5 separate regions of the Homo sapiens genome follow, and regions 2, 3, 4 and 5 are each linked to region 1. The links are contacts of gene promoters, found by promoter capture Hi-C in blood cells and fetal thymus (Javierre and others, 2016). All regions are on one chromosome and are shown on one strand. The core of a region is centred on a gene start or on the middle of the fragment in contact, and the rest is flanking DNA. Distances in the headings are between cores, read along the strand shown.

Region 1 (4,209 bases), core at 392-2,891:
TCCCAGCTACTTGGAAGGCTGAGGCAGAAGAATCGCTTGAACCCGGGAGGCAGAGGTTGCAGTGAGCTGAGATCGTGCCATTGCACTGCAGCCTGGGCAACAGTGAGACTCTGTCCCAAAAAAAAAAATTGAGAGAGTAGGTCAAAGGTGAAAATATTAGGTAATATAGAGCAGTGTTGCAAAAACATTTTTCAAATCAATACCTTCTTGATAAATTCACATGCTCCTGAAGATTCTTAATTGCTGTGGATCAGAGCACTAATGCAACCCTGTTGTGAGGCTGGGTGCAGTGGCTCACACCTGTAATCCCAGCACTTTGGGAGGCCGAGGCGGGCGGATCACGTGAGATCAGGAGTTCAAGACCAGCCCGGCCAACATGGTGAAACCCCATCTCTTCTAAAAATACAAAAAAAAAAATTAGCTGGGCGTGGTGGCAGGTGCCTGTAATCCCAGCTACTTGGGAGGTTGAGGCAGGAAAATCGCTTGAACCCAGAAGATGGAGGTTGCAAGGAGCTGAGATTGTGCCACTGCACTCCAGCCTGGGCAACAGAGCGAGACTCCATCTCAAAAATAAAAATAAAAAATAACCCTCTTGTGAGAATTATTGATAGGAAGATAAACTAGCTTTTTTGTATCCTTACCTGCTAAGATGATTTCATCAAGTTTCACTTTCTGTAGTTTGTTTCATGAAAACAAGTTTTTTGACTTTGTAAATATAAAATTACAAGGCACAAAATGCATTTTCAAACCATACATAACTCCTCCAGGAGATTGTTACGTCCAATCCCCATCCTCATTGTTGTGAATCCCAGCTTTAGAGAATCCTTATCACAGGTGGTCCCACAGTGCTTGAAGGCTCAGGCCAAAAGAGACAAGGAGATGGGTCTACCGCCCCCATAGAGGAGACCCTTATGGGAGGGACCCCCACAGGTTCCCAGGCCGGTGTTGGTGACCTCATGCACACCCTGGGAGAGGAGAGGTGACCCCACTTACGTCGGCTGGGGCGAAAACGCAGTTGTTTCCTAACTTCTTGGCTTGGGCCTCCCCACCCGAGTTGGGCAGGTCCAGAAGCACAGCAGAGGCTCCCTGCCCCACAAGTCGCTCCGCCGTGGCCAGGCCCAGGCCCGAGGCTCCTCCGGTTATTACCGCCACCAGGCCCTGTCAAAAGGGACATGGTCAGGGTCAGCTGTTACATTGCCCAGACCATCCCCACGCTGTCGCCTGCCTGTTCTCCAGGCTTCTGAGGAGAAGGGGGGAGGGGAGAGGTCGTGGTCACCCCTGCGGGTAAACTAGGTGTGCTGCTTCTCCTCAGCGTTGGGACCTCGGGGGCAGAAGGGATCTCATCCCCAGACAGCCCGTCCCGTGACGATAGATAGATAGATGATTGATAGATAGATAGATAGACAGACAGACAGACAGACAGATGCGCCGCGGAGTGCTGACTTTCACCTCTTGAGCCCAACGGCCACAATACCAGGCCTACATAAGCATGACCCTTTCCCTCGAAACCGATCTCTTTCTCCTAGTTCCACGGCCGCGCTGTCCCGGCCCGTAAAGGAAGGCAAGCAACAGAGGCAAAGAACCTTCTACCTTCACGCTCCGACACGCTGCTGCCATCTTGTCGCCGGCCACTCCACGGGATGGGGATGGGGGCGCGGGCGCTCGTTGATTGGCCGAGGCGAAGCGGCGGAAGGGGCGGATGCGACGGGCCGGGGCGTCTGCCGCTGCCGCATGAGACGTGGGGGCGTGGCCTGGTACGCTAGTCCTTTGGCCAGAGGGCGGATTCCGCCTGCTAAGGTATCCCCAGAGTTATTTCAACTGGGGAAAGAGACCAATAGCAGAAGTACAATACCACAACACCCCTCGCCCTACTCTCTAGCTGGCCTTTTGGCAAGTGGCCTGCTCCGCGTGGGGGAAGAGGGGTGGATATTGAGAACGGATGCCTTTCTCCTCTGAAAAAGTCTTAATTCAAGTATGAATGTATTTGAGACTCCTATATGCTAGACGGTGTGCGGGGCACCTGGGATACCCAGCGGAATAATAAAAGATTCATGCCTTCCAGGAGGGCACAGTCCAGGTGGAGAAAGAGAATTACAGTACAGACACAGACGAATGGACGGAACCAGATTCTGGGACACTCAGACAAGGAGATCCAAAGATGAGGAGTCTGAGTTAGAGAGAGAGAGAGCCATGTAAAGAGAAATATGTTGAGGCCGAGATAGGAAGAGAGATGCCAGGTAGGATCACAGAGAGATGAATGTGGAAAGCCGCTAAGAGAGATGCTTGGAGACAGACATTCTAGGACAGCTGCTGAGAAGCACAAACCTAAAGAGGCAAAAACATCTTTCATCAGTTCAGGCTTTGCTACTCTCCTCTATCTTTGTCTAATTTAAGTCCAAAAGCCCAGATCACACACTGCAGATTGGACTTCAACCAGAGACTATTATTTAAGACCCAGGTCTTTGTCATCCTAGAACATCTTTCAGGCAGCTTCCAGAAGCTATGTCATTAGAGTCTTGAGCCCAGATATCTAATCTGTCTTCCTTCTATACTTTTCCTCAAACCAAGGTCTTCAGGCCATAAATCTTAGCCCACCATTTCAGCCTCAGAACTGCTTTATGTTTTCTCTATCTGAAATATCTCCCCCCACTTGCTTTCTCACCCAGGAAGATTCCCCTCCAGGCCTTCTAGTTGTTGACAGCCACCACACTCATAATCACTACACCGTATTTACCAAAGGATTTAGCACACCGGTCTCACAATTTTCCTATCTACATGAAGTGCTTCCATCAATTTATAGCACTCTTCATCCGGCCCAATATGCTGTAGCCACAGTGGCCTCCTTTGTGTTCATCTTTGCATTAGCTGCTCCCTCTGCTTGGAATGCTCTCCCCTGATCTTTGCATGACTGCTTTTATTTTTTTTCATTCAGAACTAAGCTTAAATATCACCTTCCCAGAGGGGTCCTCCCTAAATATTCAAACTGTAGCCACCTAGACACTATCCCATTGCATATTTGAATTATCTTCATAGCACTTGCATGTCCGTAATCCATTTTCCAACCTTAGGGCCAGATGTGCTGTGGAATTCAGAGTTTTTTTCAATTTGAGAAAGGAAGACATGTAATTTATATTACATAACTCTTTAAAAAAACTAGTCAAACATAACTTTTTGTATAGTCTATATTATATAACTATTGAGAAAAGCCTGGAGCATCGTAATGAAATATTAATATTTCTGAAGTGAAAGGTATGAAAATTCACACCAAGTGTGAATAAAGACTATAAATAGCCTCACACTACTTCAGGTCAGGTTTTGTCATCTATTGAGTTTGGGCTCCAAAGTATGAAAAAACAACCTTATGCTTTTCAGAAGTTTTGGCATTGCAGGATTGTGCCTACAGGCTTGTGAGCCTGCATGCTCCGCTAACCTGGCCTTGTTTGTGTAGTTCTCCCCCTGCTGGAAGGTAAGCCCCATGGCACCAGGGGCTTGTCCAGCTGGTTCACCTAATGCCGAGAACACTGCTTGGCGTGTACAAGACACTTAAAACAAATGTGTGAAATAAATGAATTAATGAATTAATCTTGGAAGAATTTCCAGGCACAGTTTCATGATTCTTTCACCTGCCCAACTCCGGGAACCTTCACCTCCTCTCTACTTTAACCACCTGTCCAGGCCACCTTATTGCACTTGTCATTCCCTGGAATAACCTCCTGCCCTCCCCAGCATCTACACACCATCTTTTCTCTCTCTGACCATGTTCTCGAGTTGTCTTGGATCTCTTCCCCTCTACCGCTTTTTTTTTTTTTTTTGAGATGGAGTCTCCCGCTGCCCAGGCTGGAGTGCAGTGGCGCATCTTGGCTCACTGCAACCTCCGCTTCCTGGGTGCAAGCAATTCTCCTGCCTCAGCTTCCAGAGTAGCTGAAATTACAGGCATGGGCCACCACGCCTGGCTAATTTTTGTATTTTTAGTAGAGATGGGATTTTACCATGTTGGCCAGTCTGGTGTTGAACTCCTGACCTCAGGTGATCCGCCCTGCCTCAGCCTCCCAAAGTGTTGGGATTACAGGCATGAGCCATCGCGCCCAGCCTCAGCTCTATTATTTACTAGCCGAATGACCCTGGACAAGTTACTTAACTGATGTGCCTCAGTTTCCTCTTCTGTAAAATGAGTATAAACAAATGACTATTCGTAGGGTTGTTAGGAAT
Region 2 (3,150 bases), core at 1-2,500, 4.9 Mb before region 1:
TACTCCTTGACCCCCTCCATCCTTGACCCCCAACACCTCAACACACACACACACACACACACACAAAATCACACCATTTTCATGCCTGTCAATCCCCACCCCACCACAAGGCAGGAAGGGGGTGGTGCCTGCTGGGGCCTAGAGGGGGATGCTTGGGGAAACAGAGAAGGGGAGATCCAGGGCCTCCCCGCCTTCCTTCTTCCTTTTTATATACAATTTGTTATTGTCAAATAAAAGTAGGAAATATTCAATAGGCTTCTTCTTCACTGCTCAGAGGGGAATAGGAATGAGTGAGGAAGGGAGCACAGCATGGATAAAGGTTTGGAAGCTGGAAACCATGAAGAGAGAGCAGACTGTGATTGGTTCATGGTTAGTTTATGATTGATTAGATGATGAGCCTGAAGATGGCAGGATCCTGGTCCTGCTTGGTTTGATCAGGGCAGGGACAGATTGCATAGTTGGATGTGGGGGAGGCCTGATTGGCTGGAAAACTGAAGGATCCCCATTCTGATTGGTTGCTCTGAGTGGGACACAGAGGAGAGAAAGCAAGAGAGATGAAGGGTTGGTGCCTATTTATCCTTAGGACTGAGGGTTGTGGGTTCTAATTGGATGGGAGGTCTGGGATGGGTCTGGATTCTGATTGATTGCTCCATCTGGGGGCCCACTGGTGGTTAGGCGTTTGATTGGCTTTTTAGAACTGGCATATGGAGATTGAGGGTCTTCATGCCAATTGGTCAGTAGGACTGAGAGGCCTGGGTTCTAACTAGTTCTTCTGACTTGAGGTCGGGAGAAGAGAGAATGACCGCTGCTATTAGGACTGAGGAGTTCTGAGCACTGAAGAGCTGGGGAGGGGGTGGTTGCAGTGTATAGCGTGTGATCTGCTTGTAACAGTTTCGTTGCATTATACTAAGGGTTACTCTACCTAGAAAAGGGCGGAGGTGAAAGGATGCAACGCAACGCTAATTTCACCAGCGGAAGAAGCGGGTACAGACCTTAATGAGTCCCCGTTTTGATCGACTGATAAGGGAATGGGGAAATTGAAGCCAGGACTCGATGCAGATTGGCTACGGATCCAAAACGCCCACTAACCTTGGCGCGTCCCAGTCTCCACCCCAAACCTAACTCAGGTGAAAATGGCGCCACGCGCGGGGGCGGGGCTAGAGGTACAAAGAGAGTGTCTATTGGTTGGGAGCGGCACGGGCCGCCTTCTTCGCTTCACCATTGGCTCGCTCCGTAAGGCAAGAGAACCCACTAGGGGATGAGCCCGAACTAGGGATGTGACAGAGCGCGAGACCCAGCCTAAAGAGAGCCCGGAGCCAGCGTGGGAGGCCGCTGCCGTCGCGCGCCTTGGTGAGTGCCCTCCACCCGGCCCCTGCTCCCTCCCCCAGCTCTCCCCGGCTACGCGGCCAGCCCTCGGCGTGCCAGCGCGAGACCCTTTGCCACCCGCCCCCCCCACCGCCCTTTTGCGCCTGCGCGAGACCCCCAGCTACCGCACGGTTGTCCAGAGGACAGAAGATCCGTCTTCTCATTGGGCAGCGGGACTGGAGGGTTCTGGTTCGGATTGACCGGCTTTGTGTTCCGTTCTAGCGCTGCACGCCAGACACCGGCCTTTCAATATCCGTCTCTTCCCTGCAGGTTGACGGCGTTGCACGCTCTCGCGGGGAGGCTCTGGCTTTCCAAACGCTGGCACCGAGGGTTGTAGTTCTGATTCGTTTTCTTTCCTCTGTCCCCCAGTTGCAGTTTTCAGGACTACGTGGGGGAGGGAATAGCTTTTTGTTGAACGGTTTAAGACGCTGACCTGTGCAACTGGACCACGCCTGGTTCCTGTGTCTCTTACCAAACCGTGACCCCGGAGCACAGGACTGGGTTTGGTGGTCGTGAGCAGTTTGTGACCCTTGAAGGAAGACACCAGGCCTGGTCCTGTATCTCCCTCGCCAGACTGTGACCAGGGAGGGCTGGGATCAGGTGTTGTTCCCATGTGCCTCCCACCAGACTTTGACCCCCGAGGGCTGAGACCGGGACTGTTTCTACCACATCATAATATGGCTTCTAAAGGGCTGGAACAAGCTTTCAGCCTTTCTGTGGCCTTGTGTTTCAGTCATGTTCTTTTTCTTTTCTTTTTTATTTTATTTTGAGACAGAGTCTCGCTCTGTTGCCCAGGCTGGAGTGCAGTGGCATGACCCCGGCTCACTGCAGCCTCTGCCTCCCAGGTTCAAGCGATTCTCCTGCCTCAGCCTCCTGAGTAGCTGTAACTACAGGCGCACGCCACCACACCTGGCTAATTTTTGTATTTTTAGTAGAGACGGGGTTTTGCCATGTTGGCCGGGCTGGTCTTGAACTCCTGAGCTCAAGTGGTCCACTCGTCTTGGCCTCCCAAAGTGCTGGGATTACAGGCGTGAGCCACCGCGCCCGGCCTTCTTTTTTAGAGGCAGAGTCTCAGACTGGAGGGCAGTGATGTGGTCACTGCTCACTTCAGCCTTGAAGTCCTGGGCTCAAAGCGATCCTCCTGCCTCAGCCTACCTACTAGCTGGGACTACAGGCCTTTGTCACCACACCTGACTGATTTTCTTATTTTTTTAGAGACAGTTTCGCTGTGTTGCCCAGGCCGGACTTGAATTCCTGGCCTCAGGTGCTGCTCCTGCATCAGCCTCCCAAAGCACTGGAATTACCTGCCACGGTGCCTGGCCTTTAGTCATGGTCTTAAAACAGAATGTAGGCCGGGCGCAGTGGCTCACGCCTGTAATCCCAGCACTTTGGGAGGCTGAGGCGGGCGGATCGTGAGGTCAGGAGATCAAGACCATCCTGGCTAACACGGTGAAACCCCGTCTCTACTAAAAATACAAAAAATTAGCTGGGCGTGGTGGCAGGCACCTGTAGTCCCAGCTACTCGGGAGGCTGAGGCAGGAGAATCGTTTGAACCCGGAAGGCAGAGGTTGCAGTGAGCCGAGGTCGCACCACTCCACTCCAGCCTGGGTGACAGAGCAAGACTCCGTCTGAAAAAAAAAAAAAAAAACGGAATGTAATTAGAAGTGTTACAATCCTGTCTGTTAACTGGTAAATTCGGTCCATTTACATTTCTCATGATAATAAACTATTTGAATTTGATTTTATTATCTCATTCTGTACTTTCTATTTGTCCAGGTTTTTCTG
Region 3 (4,209 bases), core at 519-3,018, 4.9 Mb before region 1:
CACCTGTAATCCCAGCTACTCGGGAGGCTGAGGTGGGAGAGTTGCTTGAACCAGGGAGGCAGAGGTTGCAGTGAGCCGAGATTGCGCCATTGCATTCCAGCCTGGGTGACAGAGTGAGACTCTGTCTCAAAAAAAAAAGGAAAACCATTTGGTAAAGGAGAAAGTGGAGTCCTAGACGGGGGAGTTCAGTGTCAGCCTGCATTGAAATCATCCGGTTTATGGGACTTGGTTGCCTTGTGTGCTGGCTTGGACTCCATGGTATCCAAAGTGCACAGTGCATGAAACATGAAGAATTTGCAACTTAACATCAGTTTATATGTTGCTATCCAAGTTTATCTACCATGAGGCTTAACTCATACAAAAACCTTTACTTAGGGAATGTGCCTACTTGAGAAAGCAAGTTCACCTACTCATCATCCAGCTATTTTCCTTGCTAGTTATCATAGATAACATGAAAAGATTTTTTAGAGTTTACCCATGTCCTTCAAATTATCCCACACAAAACTGCTTAGAATGTGTTAAACTATATTGATGATTTAAAAACAAGCACAACAACATAAAGACAGAATCTTCCTCTATTTCAGGAGAAATGATTTACTGTGAATTTAACCTTTTAACATCTTTGGTGTTAATTGTGGGTGAACCAGGATGGCTGCTTCCTGTCTCGTTCTATGATCCTCACCCTGATCTTGTTCAGACAGCGTCGCTCCCATGTACAACACCATAGTCTCTACAGTGGGAGCCTTAAAAGGGCCCTCTTGTTTCCCTATCTGTCGTCTGACTTCTGCAGTGTCCCTGCCCACCTTCTCATAGCAGTGGCCCCAAAGGACATGTTTCTGTTACAGGTGATCACATTCAGAACAAATGTCTATATTTTTTAAATGTAAGTACATCTGGGCTGGGTGCGGTGGCTCACACCTGTAATTCCACCACTTTAGGAGGCTGAGGCAGGAGGAACGCTTGAACCCAGAAGTTCCAAACCAACCCGGGCAACACAGTGAGGCGCACCCGCCACCTGCCCCCTGCCCCTGTTAAACCAAAATAAAAATTAGCCGGGTGTGATGGTGCACGCCTGTGGTCCTAGCTACTTGGGAGGCTGAGGTGGGAGGACTGCTTGAGCCTGGAAGGTCTAGGCTGCGGTGAGTGGCATTTTGGCCTGGGTAACAGCGAGACCCTGTCTCAATAAAAAAACAAAACAAAACAAAACAAAACCGCGTAATATTCACCCTATATTCACACTGTCAATATTCACACTATAAGATCAATTAATGCCCCTACTATAAGCTTGTTTAGCAAATCTTTTCTTTTACTTTTTTTTTTTTTTTGAGATGACATCTTGCTCTGTCATCCAGGCTGGAATGCAGTGGCATGATCACAGCTCACTCTAGCCTCGACCTCCCAGGCTTAAGCAATCCCCCCACCTCAGCCTCCAGAGTAGCTGGAATTACAGGGATGCATCACCCATGCCCAATAATCTTTTTTGGTTTTTGTAGAGACAGGGTCTCACTATATTTATGTTGTCCAGGATGGTCTCAAACTTCTGGACTCAAGCAATCCTCCTACCTTGGCCTCCAAAAGTGCTAGGATTACAGGTGTGAGCCACCATGCCCAGTCTTATTTAGCAAATCTTTTCTGGATTATTAGTCCTTTTTTGATGGAAACTTTTCACATTAATTTTTTGCCCAGCTCTTTTGAGGTGTGGTTAACCAAAAAAAAAAAAAGTATATTTAAGATGTATAGGCCAGGTGCAGTGGCTCACGCCTGTAATCCCAGCACTTTGGGAGGCCGAGGTGGGTGGATCACTTGAGGTCAGGAGTTCGAGACCAGCCTGGCCAACAAGGTGAAACCCCATCTCTACTAAAAATACAAAAATTAGCCAGGTATGGTGGCGCATGCCTGTAATCCCAGCTACGCGGGAGGCTGAGGCAGGAGAAATTCCATGAAGCCAGGAGGTGCAGGTTGCACTGAGCCGAGATCGTGCCACTGCACTCCAGCCTGGGCAACAAAGTAAGACTCCATCTCAAAAAAAAAAAAAAAAGATGTATAACAGGGTGTTTGATAAATATACACATTTAAAATGATCACTACAATAAAGCAAATTAACACATCTATCACCTTAGTTACCTTTATTGTGAGTGAAATGAGAACACTTAATCATCTACTTAGACAATTTCAAGTATACACCACAGTGTTATTAACTATAGTCACCATGCTGTACATTGGATCTCCAGAACTTACTCATGTTATAACTGAAAGCTTGTACCCATTGACCAAAAATTCCCCCAGCCCTTAGTAACCACCATTGTACTCCATTTCTATGAGTTTGACTTTTTTTAGGCTGCAGATACAAGTGAGATCATGCAGTACTTGTCTTTCTACGAGTGGCTTATTTCACTTAGCATAATGTCCTCCATCCATGTTGCAAATGGCAGAATTTCCTTTTTTAAGGCTGAATAATATTCCACTGTACATATACACATCATTTACTTTATCCACTCATCTGCCATGGACATTTGGGTTGTTTCCACGTTTTGGCTATTGTGAGTAATGCTACAATGAACATGGAAGTGCATATATCTCTGAGATAGTAATTTCATAACTTTTGGATATATACCTGGAAGTAGGATTGCTGGATGCTATGGTAGTTTATTTTTTTTTATTATTATTATTTTTTTAGACAGAGTCTTGTTCTGTCGCCCAGGCTGGAGTCCAGTGGTGCGATCTTGGCTCACTGCAAGCTCTGCCTCCCGGGTTCACGCCATTCTCCTGCCTTAGCCTCCCGAGTAGCTGGGACTACAGGCGCCCACCACCATGCCCGGTTAATGTTTTGTATAGTAGAGACGGGGTTTCACCATGTTAGCCAGGATGGTCTCCATCTCCTGACCTCATGATCCACCCGCCTCGGCCTCCCAAAGTGCTGGGATTACAGGCATAAGCCACCATGCCCGGACTTGGTAGTTTATTTTTAATGTTTTGTGGAACCTCCACACAATTTTCCCTACTAGCTGTACTAATTTACATTCCTACAATAGTGTATAGGAGTTCCCTTCAGCACTTGTTATCTTTCCTATTTTTTTTTTTTTTTTTGACATGGAATCTCACTCTCTCACCCAGGCTGGAGTGCAATGGTGCAATCTCAGCTCACTACAACCTCCGCCTCCTGGGTTCAAGCGATTCTCCTGCCTCAGCCTCCCGAGTAGTTGGTGTTACAGGTGCCCACCACCACACCCAGCTAATTTTTGTACCTTAAGTAGAGATGGGGTTTTGCCACGTCAGCCAGGCTGGTCTCGAACTCCTGAGCTCAGGCAATCCACCTGCCTCGGCCTCCCGAAGTGCTGGGACTACAGGCATGAGCCACCATGTCTGGTCCTTTCCTCATTTTTATAGTGACCATCCTAATAGGTATGAGTTGATATCTCATTGTGGTTTTGATTTGCATTTCCCTGATGATTAGTGATGTTGAGCCCCTTTTTGTATACCTGGTGGCCATTTGTATGTTTTCTTTGGAGAAATGTCTTTTCAGGTACTTTGGCTATTTTAAAATCAGTTTATTTGGGGTTTTGCTATTGAGTTATATGAGTTCCTTATATATTTTGGATATTAATCCCTTATAAGATAAATGGTTTGAAAATATTTTCTTCCATTCCATAGGTTGCCTTTTCATTTTGTAGATTGTTTTTCCTTTGCTGTGCAGAAATTTTTTAGTTTGATGTAGTCCCACTTGCTTATTTTTTTAACACAGAGTCTTGCCCAGGCTAGAGTGCAGTGGCACGATCTCGGGCTCAACCTCCGCCTCCCAGGTTCAAGCGATTCTCCTGCCTCAGCCTCCTGAGTAGCTGGAACTACAGGTGTGCACCACCACGCCCGGCTAATTTTTGTATTTTTAGTATAGATGGAGTTTCACCATGTCAGCCAGGCTGGTCTCGAACTCCTGAGCTCAGGCAATCCACCCACCTCGGCCTCCCAAAGTGCTGGGATTACAGGCGCGAGCCACCACACCTGGCTGTTTATTTTTGCTTTTGTTGTCTGTGCTTTTGGTTTCATGTCCAAAGAATCATCGATAAGACCAATGTCGAGGAGTTTTCCCCCTTGGTTTCCTTCTAGGACTTTTATGGCTTCAGATCTTATGTTTAAGTCTTTAATCCATTTTTAGTTTTTGTGTATGGTGTAAGATAAGGGTCCATCATTTTTCCCAGCACCATTTATTGA
Region 4 (4,209 bases), core at 557-3,056, 4.7 Mb before region 1:
GAAATCAACTCAGAAATGAATCAGTCCTCTCAAATTGTGACATACCACCCAAAAGAGACAGGAGAGTTCATATCCTTGGGAATAAACCTGTAAAAAAAAAATAGGGGCCTCAAATCACAGAACATACACTGTCACACAGTTGAGAGACCTCATGTTTGGAAACACACTGAGGAATAGATGAAATACCTCACACATCCTCGAAAAGATCAGACATTACATCATGGGACATACACCTGCAAACAGATTGATGATGCCAAACTGTAGGAATTAAATCCACAAACTGATCAGAGACCTAATATGCAGGGACATATAATCACAAATAGATCAGAGACCTTACATTTTTTACATGCACCCATGAAAAAGATCTCACATACCAGGATACACAATGATACAACGATAGCCACGGACCTCACACACAACAAGAAAAAGGTCATAAGCCTTATATCCTAGTAAATAAACCCCCAACCAGCTCAGGAACCTCTCACTGTGGGACATACTCCACAAACAGATAAGAGAACTCATACCTAGGTTCATACAATCACAATCATATCAGAGAACTTCTATTCTTAGCATATACCCATGAAAGATGCTTCACATACTGATAATTACAATGACAAACACATCACAGACCTAAAATCCTGGGACATACATGCACAAACACAGATCAGATCAGTGACCTCACACACTGGGACATACATCCACAAACATGTCAGAGATCTTCTATTCTAGTAAATACATCTACAAACATGTCAGAGACCTCAACCTCACATCCTGGGACATACTTGCAGAAATAGCCCAGATACCTAAAATTTCTGCATAAACCATCCCTTAATTTGCATGTAACTAAAAGGTGGGCATAAATATGACTGCAGAACGGCCTCTGAGCTGCTACTTTGGGCATACTGCCTATGGGTAGCTCTTCTCTGCAAGGAGCAGCACATCTGCTCCTGCTATACACTGCCGCTTCAATAAAAGCTGCTATTTAACACCACCAGCTCACTCTTGAATTCCTTCCTAGGCAAAGCCAAGAACCCTCCTGAGCTAAGCCTCAACTTTGGGGCTTGCCTGTCCTGCAACCAGATGAAAGATCTCAAACTCAGTGTATCCATGAACAGATCAGAGACCTTACATACAGAGACATATGTGGGCACATGGATCAGAGACTTCTTACTTGGGAACATACATCCAGAAACAGACCAGAGACCTCATATCCTGAGAAATACACCAACAAACTGACTTTGACATACACCAATGAAAATCACATACTAGTATACAGCAACAAATGGATCAGAGACCTCACATCCTGGGAAATATACCACCAAACAAATCAGACATCTCACACCTCTGCATATATACCATCAAAGAGCTCAGAGACTTCACACCATGGGACTTACACACCCAAAAAGATCAGATACTTAAATCCTAGCTCATATAACCACAAACATACTTGAGAACTCACTCTGAGCAATCCACCCCCAAACAGATTAGAAACCTCATATCCTGGAACATATAGCCACAAAAATATCAGAGACTTCATACCCTTGACACTTCACATATACAGGAACATATACAGGGATAAACAGATCTGAGACCTTACATGCACCCACTAGGAGCTCAGGGAACTCACATCCTGGGAAATATACCCACAAACATTTTGGAGACCTCATACCCAGAGATGTACACCCACAGTCATAGCAGAGACCTCATGCCCTAGGACATACACCCTCAGACAGAATAGTCCTCATATTCTCCAACACACACCAAATAAACAGATTAAAGTACTGACATCCCTAAAAAAATACAACCAGAAAAGCTCAGAAATATAACATCTAGGGAAATATAGCCACAAAAAGCTGAGACTCACACCTTGGCACATACACCCACAAAGAGATCAGAGATCTAACATTCCGGGACATAAAACCAAAAACAGATCAGAGACCTCAAACCCTTGACATGCATTCATGAAGAGAGACCTCACATCTTGTCATTGTATAATGACAAGCAGATCAGAGGCCTCATACCCTGGGATGAATACTCACAAGCACATTGGAAACCTTACACCATTGGACATATACCCACAAACAGAACGGAAACCTCAAATATACTTCCAAATGGATCACAGAACTCACATCTTGGAATATATACCCACAAAAAAATCAGAAATCTCTTATTCTGGGAAATATAGACTCAAACAGATTAGAGACCCCACAACTTTGGACACACACGATCAAAGGGCTCAGATACCTTACACCCTGGTATATACACCCATGAACAGAGATCTCATATACTGTGACATAAATGTCAGGGATACTCACAAACAGTTTGGGAGCCTTACATCCTGAGATATATACTCATAAACAGTGCAGAGTACTGATTCCCTCTGCCCTCAAACTCAGAAATATCAAAGTCGGGACACAGGTTCTCAAACACATTAAAGACTTCATATCCAGGGACTCAGTGGCCCAAACAGCTGACACCTAGTGTTCTGGATGCAGAATCCAGTCACCTTGGTGATGTCTCTTCCTGGGACTTAGAAATCCATATACCTCAAAGAATAAACAGAAACAATACACCGTCCTCCAAAGAGTGCATGGATGTGAACCTGGGACACAGACTGCCAAACACCCCAGTGACCTCATACCCAGAACAGACTGCCAGAGAGCTCAGATAATTCAAATTCTGGACTTGATCACGTTCTGAACATGAACAGAAAAAAACAGCCCAGAATCCCCATGCTTTGGGACATAGATTCCCAAATAATTCAGAGATCTAAAAACCTAGAGAGAGAACCCCAAAAGGTCACTTAAAAATGCGAAACATAGAATGCCCAAAAGACCCAGACATCATGGCATGGATACAGACCACGAAAAAGCTCCAAAGTCTCGAACTCCAGACAGACCATCAAAGAGCTCAGAAACACCTCTTATGAGTTATCTATTGCCACATAAAAAATAACCCCCAAATTTACCGGCTTTTGGCTGCTTGAGCATCCTCGAATGATGGCTGGCTTCTACTAGTCAGTGATCCAAGAAAAAGTACAGCAGAAGCCATAAGTGCCTTTTAAATTTCCCTCTAGGTAAGTACTGCTTTGCTGCATCCCACAAATTTGGTAAGTTTTATTTTGATTTTCATTTAGTCCAAACTATTTTTTATTTCTCTTGAGACTACTTTGAGCTACTGGGGCCCTGCATCCTCCCCTAAAGTCTTTCTCTGGAGCTCATACCCTGCCTCTCACATAAATGTATAAACCCGTCTCATAAGCACAGTTTTCAGAAGAGGAACAAAGTTTTTTCTCACTGTGCATCCTTGCCTCATGGTGCACAATCTATTATGCATGTTCTCAAGAGAACAACTGAAGTAAAACTGTGGATTTACTAGAGATGAAGACACAATTCTGGGGAGTGTTTACTCTTTCTTAAACCCAACATACATTTACATTAAACAACATGTGCACATGATTCCTAAGTTCCAACTGAGACAGTCCCAAGCCCACACTGGCCCCTGGCATTTATATGGATTGCTTGCTTCCCTTCCCCCAGCCCTGAATTCTACTTTCAGAAGGGGTGTGGGATTAGGGGGAAGGGACTGAAATCAGGAGAGCGTGTGTGGACTGTGCATTGTCCTACCGATTCTTACCAGTCTTGTAAAAACCTCAGCAGCTCAAGGTTTAGATGATCCAAAACGCTAGACTCTCCTACCATCCAACCAGGACTTGGGGGTTCCAGGCTTTGAAAGAGGGTCTATCAGGCTCCAAAGTCCATGTGTTCTGGGTTATCATCAGTGTGATCAAAGCCTAAGGGGAGATGGACTCCAACATCCATCTGAGCAACGTCCATCCTGAGAGATGGGGGTCCCCACTCAGTGGCTGATGTCAGGAGACACAGAACAAACATCTCCCTACAACACAATCTCCACAAACAGTGTCAAGGGAAACTGTGCCCTCCAGAACAGAGGGCGAGATAGGTTCTGAAGGAAGTTGGTAATTTATACTTTATGGTCTAGGCCAAGCTTGTCCAACCCAAGGCCCATGGGCCACATGCAGCCCAGGACGGCTTTGAATGTGGCCCAACACAAATTCGTAAACTTTCTTAAAACATTATGAGATGTTTTGGCGATTTTTTTTTTTTAGCTCATCAGCTATCGTTAGTGTTAGCTATTTTATGTGTGGCCCAAGACAATTATTCTTCCAATGTGGCCCAGGGAAGCCTG
Region 5 (4,209 bases), core at 1,678-4,177, 4.2 Mb before region 1:
TGCAGTTGGGGAGAGAGCCAGAACCAGGGTCCCACCTAGAGTCCTGAGATCTAGGCTTGGATTTCAACTCTGCCGCTGCATTTCGGTGAGGCCCTGAGATCTCTGGTCTTCAATTTGCCCTTCTACACTGAGCACGGAGAGGCGTGGAGTAGACAAGGGCCAGGGCCCTTCTACGCTGTCTGGTTAAGTCATTAGGTGTCTGCAGGGCTTCAAGTTGACAATTGCCCCTCTATCCAGGGGACTGGCTGAGAGATAGGGATACATAGAGACAAAGAGACACACACAAAGAGCGAGCAAGAGAGAACAAGAGATAGTGAGAGACATTGAGAGAAATGGACACATGCATGGAGAGCCAGAGTGCATGTGTGCGAGAGGAGGATTGCCTCAAATAAGAACATTTGCTGGTCTCTGGCTGGTTCAACTGATGCTGCCTGAAATAATCAAGAATAAAGAAGGGCAAGGTGCCAGGGACACCCATGGCTGGGTATTGAATTGTATTGCAAAGCAACAATCAGCAAAACAGTGTGGCCCTGGTATAAGAACAGATACTGGGGAAGAGAACAGAATAGAAAGCTTGGACATGGACCCACATATGGAGAGAACTGAATTTGTGATGAATGTGGCATTTCAAACTGGAGGACCATGGAGTATGGTTTAACAAATGTGTCTGAGATAATTAGGGAGAAGATAAAGTTATTGAGTGAATAGTCAGTCCATTATCCCAACAACCCCTCCCTGCCCAGTTTGAAATGTCACCATCATCATATACCCTAAAATGCCCAGATCCATTCAAGATATAAGTTTTAACACCTAATGCTGATCTTGGGTTTATTGTGTGTCAGGCCTTGTGCTAAGTATTTACTGTGGTTAAAAATTTTAATCTAAACAAAGACTCCTGAGGAAGGTACTATTATAACCATTGCAGTACATATGAGGAAATGGAGGTATGGAGAGGTTAAGTGCCTGGCTAAAAATCACACATAGGGCTTGGGGTGACGCTGGGTTTGTCCCAGACAGTCTGGCTCCAGTACCCACACTCTTAACCTCTATAGTAAATGGAAAAAATGAAGCCATAAAAGAGACTAGAAGCCAACATAGGTGAACATTTATCTCATTTTCAAGTAGGAAAGGACTTTCTAAGCACAAAACCAGAGACAGAAGCCACAGAAAAAAAGACTAACCTATTTGACTGTATAAAACCATCATAAGCATCACAAAAAACACCATAAACAAATAGAAAAAAAGCAAATGATGAATTGGGGAAAATATTTGCTATATATGTAATGGCTGATGAAAGGTTAATAACCATTCCAAATAAAGAGCTGTGGCAAATCAATAAGGGAAAAATAAGATGAACACCCTATTAGGAGTAAGGACATGACCAGACAACCAAAAAAAAAAAAAAAAAAGCATGAATGGCCAATGAATAGTAAAAGTAATCACAAGATGCAAATTTCAACAATGTGATAATGTGTTTTTCTTACCTGTCATGTTGGGAAATAATTAAAACATAATAATACTCACCTAGGGTTAGCTTAAGTAGAGGGAGCATAAAATAGGACAACCTTTTGGAAGGAGAATTAGCAGAGAGGGTCATAAACTTTAAAAATGCACGCCCCCTTTGCCCCAGCAACTCCCTTTTCAGGAATCCAAGGAAGCAGTCAGGGATGTTTATAGAAAAAAACGAGAAACAACCGGAATGTCCAACAATCGGCACTTGGTCAAATCAATCAAAGTTCATGCTGATGTGAGGACAGTCTTGTCCATCATGAAAGATCATGTGTTCAAACAATTTTTAGTAAGCTTCAAAAACACTACTGTTAATTGAATAAAGCAGGAACAAAACCAATATATAGCATGATTCTAATTTGGTTACAGAAATACTAATAGCTAACACTTCGTGAGCACTTACTTTGTGCCAAACGCTGTGCTAAGCCTGCAGAATCGAGCTCACCCCAGCCCTGAACAACCTGTTTGCTTCCTGAATATGGACTCTGGTCACACACATGCAGTCCTGGGGTAGGTCCACACAGCTAAACTACGGTTGACAATGGTGTGAAGTGCTCCCTGCCCCCCCGCCCCAAGGGTCTCCTCTAAAGCGATACAAGCAAAGTTCAGTTAAGTGCTCAGCTTGCCCCGGCACCTTGCAATCCTCCTGCTACTAGGGTGAACAGAACTGATGCTCACTCTCATAAAATGTAAAGGTCCTCGGCGACATTACTATTATTAAACGCCAGCTGTGTACAAAGCTCTAGGCTGGATGCTGGCTGGGAAGGCAGGTGGGGGAAGGCAAGAAAAGAGAGCGGGAGAGATGGAGGAAAGGAGATCGATGGAGTGTGGTCAAGATGGAGGAGACAGAGATAGGGGAGATGGTCAGAGGCCAGGAGAGATGCGGGGAAAGAGAGTCTGAGTGTAGCGACAGACAGATGGCGGGAGAAAGAGAGGCAGAGAAACATGTAAAAGAGCAAGACAGGGTGAGCAGAGAGACAGAGAAGGATGAGAGGCATCAAGAGCTAAGAGACAAAGAGATGAGAGAGATGCAGTTGAAATTTTCAGTTGCACCTGGACAGCATTTCAAGTTGTTCAAAGCTCTGAAATCCATAAAGACTGGCAGCTGACATATTTTAAAAATCCTATCCATCTACGTATCAATTGATGAATTCATTTATTTTTGCCCCTGCCCATGCATTAAGTACTTCACCTTTAAGTCTTCTGCCATTTATTCTATTATTTTTTTAAAGACCTTACCTGGCTGGAATCACGGTAGCTGGGTACATCCCACTGTACCAGAGGGCCCCTGACCCCCCCGCCGTGCCTACCTCCCTGCCATCTCCTCCAATGGGGCCCACATCTGGTAGGGGAGAGCAGGGACACTCACCTTGGTGAAGTGGACTGACAGAAAAGGATCAGCCTGGCTTGTGGGAAACTGTCACGTATCAAAAACAACTTTGCTTTTATACCGAGAAGAAAAACCACGCTGTACGGTGTGGAAGCCGCAGACCTCTCTCTTCTAATAATCCAAATTTTTTTCGATGAGTGTGTGCGCTGATAATCACGGGGTGGGGAGGGGTTCTCATAGTTTTTTTTTTCTCTCTCTCTGTGTTTCTCCTTTTCTTGATTATGAGACTTAAACGGAAATTTTGAAATTTTGGGTTTTTTTCTTTGCCCTTTACGAGTCATCTGAAAATATGATTTCTTCCCCTCACCACAGAGGTGAGAGGTATCAATGAGATAATAGGGCTCATGAGAAACCACAGTTTTTAAAACAAAAGTGTATAGAGTTTGAAAAAAAAAAAACAAGGGAAAAGAACTAAAATAAATCACAGGGCCAACCCGAGGCAGGCAGAGACACCATTCTGTGAGTGAGAGGATATTTGAGGGTCTCTGGGGAAAGAAAGAGAATCTGAAGCTCTATGTGTGGATGGGAAATGCCAGGGAAAGAGACAGAATAGGGCTGGGTTCCCAGAGGCCTCGCCCTACTCCAGGCCTCAGTTTCCCTATAGATGGAATTGATATGGTCCCCATTGCTTGAACTACCCGGCGAGGGGAGTTCTGCACCCCCTGCAACACCCCTCCCACAGAGGGTGAGGGGCATGTAAGTTACTTCATGGAGGAGAAAGCGGAGAGCCCACTGTCATCCCCTAAAATTCATGGACTTGAAGAGTCGGAGAATCCCTGGCTCCCAGAATCTACTGACAGTTACTGAATGAGGAAAGAGAGAAAAGTCTCGCCTCATCACGTTTTAGGGCTTGAGTGCCCTGACCCAGCCACTGTCCCACTGGGAAGGTCCCTAGCAGGTCCCCAATATTAATGCATCCATCCTCACGATGAACCCCAGAGGCCCATTGGGACCCTGACCCTCTTGTTTCAGGAACATCATGGCCTGATGCTTCTGAGGCCCTCAGCCTTTGGGGTCTTTTACTTCAAAAAGCCCCAGTTTCCAAGGATTTAGGATTCCAAATATCCGCCATCATCTCAGTAGCTGATGTTTATCTTGAATTTTCCATGGGTCAGATACAGTGCTGAACATGTCTCACAAGTGATCATGTTCAATCCTCACCATGGCCCCTTGAGCTCCATCTCATCATTATTGTATTCCTGTTATACAGATGAGGGAAACGGAGGTATAAGTAGTCAAGCAACTTGCCCAAGATCACAGAGCTGGCGAGTGTGGGTCCCGCTTTCTTTGGTGCTGGGCTTTGAAATCCC

What was found. The method cuts DNA at HindIII sites, captures the fragments that hold promoters and counts their contacts. A CHiCAGO score of 5 or more calls a contact.
Region 2: the fragment with the promoter of EBP here is called in contact with the fragment with the promoter of HSD17B10 in region 1 in 2 of 17 cell types (neutrophils and monocytes); the score reaches 9.9 in neutrophils.
Region 3: a fragment that was not itself captured here is called in contact with the fragment with the promoter of HSD17B10 in region 1 in 1 of 17 cell types (M0 macrophages); the score reaches 5.1 in M0 macrophages.
Region 4: a fragment that was not itself captured here is called in contact with the fragment with the promoter of HSD17B10 in region 1 in 1 of 17 cell types (neutrophils); the score reaches 5.8 in neutrophils.
Region 5: the fragment with the promoter of FOXP3 here is called in contact with the fragment with the promoter of HSD17B10 in region 1 in 1 of 17 cell types (neutrophils); the score reaches 7.0 in neutrophils.

Annotation. Positions count from the first base shown.
Region 1 is chrX:53,432,729-53,436,937 of GRCh38, forward strand. HSD17B10 (hydroxysteroid 17-beta dehydrogenase 10) reads right to left here and starts at 1,642. Exons shown (of 6, transcript NM_004493.3): 1 at 1,591-1,642; 2 at 994-1,158. The coding sequence starts at 1,617. The HindIII fragment of the contact is 11,572 bases long and covers 1-2,937 here.
Region 2 is chrX:48,520,558-48,523,707 of GRCh38, forward strand. It overlaps EBP (EBP cholestenol delta-isomerase), which reads left to right and starts at 1,251. Exons shown (of 5, transcript NM_006579.3): 1 at 1,251-1,350; 2 at 3,142-3,150. PORCN (porcupine O-acyltransferase) reads left to right here. Exons shown (of 15, transcript NM_203475.3): 15 at 1-251. RefSeq lists silencers at 92-151, 1,066-1,295, 1,356-1,535. The HindIII fragment of the contact is 9,622 bases long and covers 1-2,065 here.
Region 3 is chrX:48,582,465-48,586,673 of GRCh38, forward strand. It overlaps the pseudogene MRPL32P1. Among named protein-coding and RNA genes, the nearest start is that of RBM3, 10 kb to the left of the region's middle. The HindIII fragment of the contact is 972 bases long and covers 1,283-2,254 here.
Region 4 is chrX:48,727,408-48,731,616 of GRCh38, forward strand. No RefSeq gene overlaps it. Among named protein-coding and RNA genes, the nearest start is that of GLOD5, 32 kb to the right of the region's middle. The HindIII fragment of the contact is 4,400 bases long and covers 1-4,006 here.
Region 5 is chrX:49,261,783-49,265,991 of GRCh38, forward strand. It overlaps FOXP3 (forkhead box P3), which reads right to left and starts at 2,928. Exons shown (of 12, transcript NM_014009.4): 1 at 2,879-2,928. The HindIII fragment of the contact is 2,410 bases long and covers 1,802-4,209 here.